Regions from separate parts of the Homo sapiens genome. Here region 2 is linked to region 1. The links are contacts of gene promoters, found by promoter capture Hi-C in blood cells and fetal thymus (Javierre and others, 2016). All regions are on one chromosome and are shown on one strand. The core of a region is centred on a gene start or on the middle of the fragment in contact, and the rest is flanking DNA. Distances in the headings are between cores, read along the strand shown.

What was found. The method cuts DNA at HindIII sites, captures the fragments that hold promoters and counts their contacts. A CHiCAGO score of 5 or more calls a contact.
Region 2: a contact is called between a fragment that was not itself captured here and the fragment with the promoter of WSCD1 in region 1, in 1 of 17 cell types (endothelial precursors). The highest score is 8.1, in endothelial precursors.

Annotation. Positions count from the first base shown.
Region 1 is chr17:6,068,972-6,071,671 of GRCh38, forward strand. WSCD1 (WSC domain containing 1) reads left to right here and starts at 1,408. Exons shown (of 9, transcript NM_015253.2): 1 at 1,408-1,681. RefSeq lists an enhancer at 644-1,475. The HindIII fragment of the contact is 6,207 bases long and covers 1-2,700 here.
Region 2 is chr17:5,809,876-5,812,575 of GRCh38, forward strand. All of the region lies in intron 1 of LOC339166 (a long non-coding RNA gene), which reads left to right. Among named protein-coding and RNA genes, the nearest start is that of NLRP1, 230 kb to the left of the region's middle. The HindIII fragment of the contact is 3,306 bases long and covers 1-2,700 here.

The DNA of each region.
Region 1 (2,700 bases), core at 158-2,657:
CCACCTGACTGACCCGCGTAAGGAGGGACTGTGACTGGTCCCCAGGCAAACGCTTTCCCTGCCACCTGCACCTGTTGCAAGCCAGCTCCTCGGAGCCAGGCCAAGCAGCTCTGCCCCTAGCGGGAGTCGGAGGCATGAAACTCCCTTTTAGGAAGACGGAGTAAGAGGCACCACCACCTGCTCCTGCTGCCTCTGCTGTCCTCAGCTTCTGGGAGCATCTTAGCAGCCAGCTCCGGGTGAGGACAGGGTCCACCGGTGCACATGGCAGAGCAGGGCAGATGCTGTGACTTGGCGGCTTTGGGGGAACAGGGTGGGGCTCCTCCCTGGGAAAAATCTTTAGGTTTGGATCCAGCCTTTATTTAAAGAGGGGGATTGTGTATAGACTTGTGTGACTGTTCAGCCTCTTTCCACCTCGGTGCGTGTGTGTGTGTGTGTGTGTGTGTGTGTGTGTGTGTGTGAGAGAGAGAGAGAGAGAGAGAGCCTGTGGGTCAATGCCCAGTATGCCCCTCTGAGAGTGTGTCTGTTAGTAGACACCAGTGTGTGACATTGCTTCTGTGGGCAACTATGTCAAGGCGTGGGTTTGTCACTGTGTGCGGTGTGGAGCAGTATGATAAGCCGGCGGCCGACCCCCGAGTGTGTAGACGCGGGAGCTGGTGTCAGGGTATTTGTAGGGCTGCAATTCTGTGTAGGTCTGTCTCAGATTGTGTGAGAGTGTCTGTGTTCCAGCAGGTGCTTGTTTCTGAGTGTGAATGTGTGTGAAGCTGTGACCGTCTGTCTCTAGCTCTGCATGGGACGGTGATCCGGTGTGTGTGTGTGTGTGTGTGTGTGTGCGTGCGTGTGTGGTGTGTGTGTGTATTAGAGTGCACTCTAAACTGTGTGGCTGTGTGTGTACGTGTGCGTGCCTGTCACAGTGGCCCAGTCTGCTTCTGGGTGAGTGGGGCAGAGCCCAGAGAGTGTGTGTGTGAGTGTGGGTGTCGGTGTCTCTGGGAAGCAGTGATTCGGGATGTGTGTGTCAGGCAGTGTGCGGCTGTCGCTGTGAGTCTGCATGGGAGAGTGGCGGCGTGCTCTCCTCTGCGCGGCAGTGCCCCGTGTGTTTGTGGGTCTGTGTCTGGGTGTGAGCGTCATGGTGCGTGTGTTAGAGCCCGTGGGGCCCCGGTGAAAGGCTGTGGCTCTGGGTGACTGGTGTGTGTGTGTGTGTGTGTGTGTATCAGAGTGGGTGGCGGCGTCTCTGCTCGGCAGTGGCGCGTGTGGCCCGCCCCGCGCGCGTGTTCTCGCGGGCCGGGGCAGGGCGTGGGCCCCCTCCGGCGGAGCCGCGACCCCTCCCCCGGGCGGCGGGAGGTGCGCACCGGCGCCTCTAGGACCCGGCGGCGGCCGGCCGCTGTCCCCGGGCCGCGCGAGTGAGCATGTGCAGAGCCCGGCGCCCGCTCGCCCGCCCGCTGCCCGCCCCGGCTCCGCGCCCGCCCGCCCGCCCCGCCGTTCAGCCCGGACGCCAGCAGCCCCGGGGAGCCAGGCGGCGGCGCCCTGTGCCCGGGCGCGTGGGTCCGCTTGCCGCGGGCGGCCGGAGACGTGCGGGCGCCGGGGCTTCTGGGCTCCGGGCACTGCGGGGGGCTGCGGGCTCGGCGCCCGGGGAAGGCGGGCCATGGGCGCGGGTGCGGGCGCCCCAGCCGGCCGCGATCGCGGGGTGAGTCCTGTCTCTCGGCGCTCCAGCCGGACCCCCGCGCGGGCTGCGAGCAGGGTGTTCCCCTTGCCGCGGGCAAACAAGTTTGTGCAGACGCGGTTGGGAGCGCGGCGGGGCTGCACCTGCTCCGGCTGCAGGGCGGGCTTGCCGGGGGCACCTTCCCGGGGGCCCGGGGCGGCTCGGCCGGGGCAGGGGAGAGTGAGCGGGTGCGTGCAGGGGTTGTGGGGGGGCGGGGGCGGCGCTCGGCGCGGCCGGGATGGGGTGGGGGTGCGCGAGGCGCCGCACGAGCCGCGTCCCCCTCCGGAGTCCTGAGAGCCCGTCCGTCACCCGGGAGGGCGCTGCGGTTGGTCCCGGGGAGGGGGCGAGGGCAGGGTGTGGGGTGCGCACAGCTTCCCTCCTAGGCGGCGACGTTTACCCAGAAGCAGCTCCCTCTCGTTCCGCTACCAAGAGAGGCTTCCGGTCAGCGGAGGGTTTGCTCCGTCTCTTGGTGAACTTGAACAGAGGCAGAGGCAAAAGCAAAACGTATGTATTTTGTCCAGAAAATTACCTAGTGTAGAGCTTTGCGTCTTCGTAGGTGTGGACGGAGACTCACGACTGAAGGTTGCTAAATTGCGTTTTTCTTGGCTACTCAGGAGCGTACGTACCTGGCTGGGTCCCCTGCCTCCGGGTAACCTCGCTGGTGGTTTTCCTGAGCATTTGTGCGCCTGGGATGATGCCTGCTCTGCTGATCGGGAATGCGGGTGGGGAAGGGGACCGCTCTTCCTTCCGCTGAGCAGTGGGAAGGCTCATATAGGAGTTCTAGCCTCATAGCCCTGCACTGGGATCCAGCTGCTCCCCACACTGGCCCTGCCCCTGCAGCTCCCAAGATGGACAGATGCAGGACTCCGCTGTACTTTTCTAACATGAGATACCCGCATCCCTCTTGTTGCTGGAACAGCATGCTTAGGTTTATGGAGGCACTTGGTTTATCCCACTTTGGCATCAGGAGTGGGGGCCTTTCTTTTTTCCTCTGATTTGCCTAG
Region 2 (2,700 bases), core at 187-2,686, 260 kb before region 1:
CAGGAATATGCATAGTGGGTGATGGAGGAGGGGGCTAGGAGAGCCCCCAGCAAGGGGCATGAGCTGCCCTTGATTTGCTGGAGTCCAAGGCCTGTCTAGGGAAGGAGTTGGGGGTGACTGAGGGGCAGCTGATGTGCACCAGGATCTCATTAGTCCTGTGCTTTACATCGATTCACAGGGCTCAGTGGCAGGGACATGCCAAAACGCACCCAAACTCAATACACAGGGAATGTGACTCTGATCTATTTCTTCACTTAAGGGAGTCATTTCACAAACAGCAAGGGATGCCAGAAGACCTCAGAGTTCAAGAAAACTGCCTATTGTGTTTCCTAAAAATAAGAAATCACTTTGAGCCCTGCACTGTTATAGGTAAAGGCAATTTCAGAAAGCCTTTAGTTCCATTGCCCAAGTTAAAAAAGGGATAATTTGTTTTAGTTTTTATCCAATTTATACATATACCAAATTTGAAGACCCTGATAGGTCTATGAGGCTTGTTATTGGAAACCGTCCTCCCTCTTTCTCATCCCTGGAGGCAAGAACTTTCAAGATTTTAGCCCATTCTTGTGGTATTGATCTCTTTGCTTTATATAATAATCTTGCAGCTATTTCTATATTGTGTAGTGTTGGGCACTATCTCCTGGTTTCCTACTGTGAATAAGATGGATTTAGCTCTTTTTTCTTCTCACTGCTCTTCCCCCATTCTCTTTCCTCCCAAAACATGGTGAAGATTTTGGTGAGATCACCACCAGGTTTATGTTACAATCCCTATGTAAGTGCTTTTATAGCAGGAACGTGCAGTGTCCTATGATTACTTTTTCTTTCTTTTTTTTTCCCCTTGGGACAGGGTCTCACTCTGTCACCCAGGCTGGGTGCAATGGCATGATCTCAGCTCACTGCAACCTCCACTTCTCCAGTTCAAGTGATTCTCCTGCCTCAGCCTCCTAAGTAGCTGGGATTACAGGCATGCACCACCATGCCCAGTTAATTTTTGTATTTTTAGTGGAAACGGGGTTTTACCGTATTGGCCAGGCTGGTCTCAAACTCCTGACCTCAAATGATCCACTCACCTCAGCCTCCCAAAGTGTTGGGATTGCAGGCATGAGCCACTGCACCTGGCCACGATTACTTTTCTGCATACTATGATGGCCCAGCCTTTCATCTTCCATGCAATTCATAACTGTCCTGGGTCTTTCATTTCTCTCGTTTTCTGTGGATTTTCCAATAATCCAATGCCAAGCTCTCTGCCAATTGTCTAGATTTCCCCAGAAGGTGTTCAGACAGATATACTATATGTTTCATTTTCCTGAAGAAACCCCTAACCAGCCTGTCAGAGGTGGGTGTTCTCCCAGCCTGCTGCTTAGTTGACATCTGGGACCTTCCATCACATCATTGTGGAGATTCTCTTTGCCTGTCTCCTGGGTTGGATCTCCTGTGTACTCTGTCCCCTGTATCTCTTTCTCTGTTTACCCTGCTTATTGGGGACCAACCCATCTCTGCTGTTTTCATGAGAAACAGTGCCTGGAAGATAGACTTTTGACATCTTGCATGTCTGACAATATCTTCATTTGACCTTTACACATAATTGGTAGCTTTGCTGGGTAAAGACTTATAGGTTGGTAATTATTTTCCTTTCAATGTGGATCCTTCAGTTTTGGGATTTTTAGTCAATTGTTCCTTTCATCATTTTCTCAGGTCCCCTTTCTGAAATTCCTTTTGTTTAAATATTATACCTTCTGGACATGTCTGCTAACATATTTTTCTCCTTTCCACCTTTTTGTCTTTTGGGAGATATCTCTTCACTCTATCGTCTATCCTAATGAGTTTTTCATTTCTGCATAATTTTAGAAGCTATTTGATAATTTTAGAAGTTTTTTGATGTTTATGTTATTTCATTCTTTTTTTTTAATCGGTGCCATTTTCTGTTTTTTTGAGATAGAATCTCACTTTGTCACCAGGTTGGAGTGCAGTGGCATGATCTCGGCTCACTGCAACCTCTGCTTCCTGGGTTCAAGTGGTTCTCCTGCCTCAGCCTCCCGAGTAGCTGGACTACAGGCGTGAGCCACCATGCCTGGCTAATTTTTTATATTTTTAGTAGAGATGGGGTTTCACCATGTTGGCCAGGATGGTCTTGATCTCTTGACCTCATAATCTGCCTGCTTCAGCCTCCCAAAAGGCTGGAATTACAAGCGTGAGCCACTGCGCCTGGCCTCATTATTTTTTTACAGCAATCTTTCCTCTCTGCAAACCAAAAATAAAATTCTAAGACCCCCACAGCCATCTAAAGGGACCCCTCCTCTTGGCCAAGGGCATTCCAAAGTTAAGCTGAAAAACAAGTTCAGGCCATGATGGGAAGAGGGAGCTGGACATGCCTCATTATCCCCTCTGCCCTTTTGGAATTATGGATAGAACAGACTCTGTACATCTGAGAAGAAACATTTACAGTCTATTCTCTCTGTATCCTGCTACCTGGAGTCTTTGTCTGCATGATAAAGCCTTGGTCTCCACAACCCCTTATGGTTACCCAGACATTCCTTTCTAGTGATTTTTTTTTTTTTTTTTTTTTTTGAGACAGAGTCTTGCTCTATCACCCAGGCTGGAGTGCAGTGGTGCAATCTCGGCTTACTGCAAGCTCCACCTCCTGGGTTCATGCCATTCTCCTGCCTCAGCCTCCTGAGTAGCTGGGACTACAGGTGCCCGCCA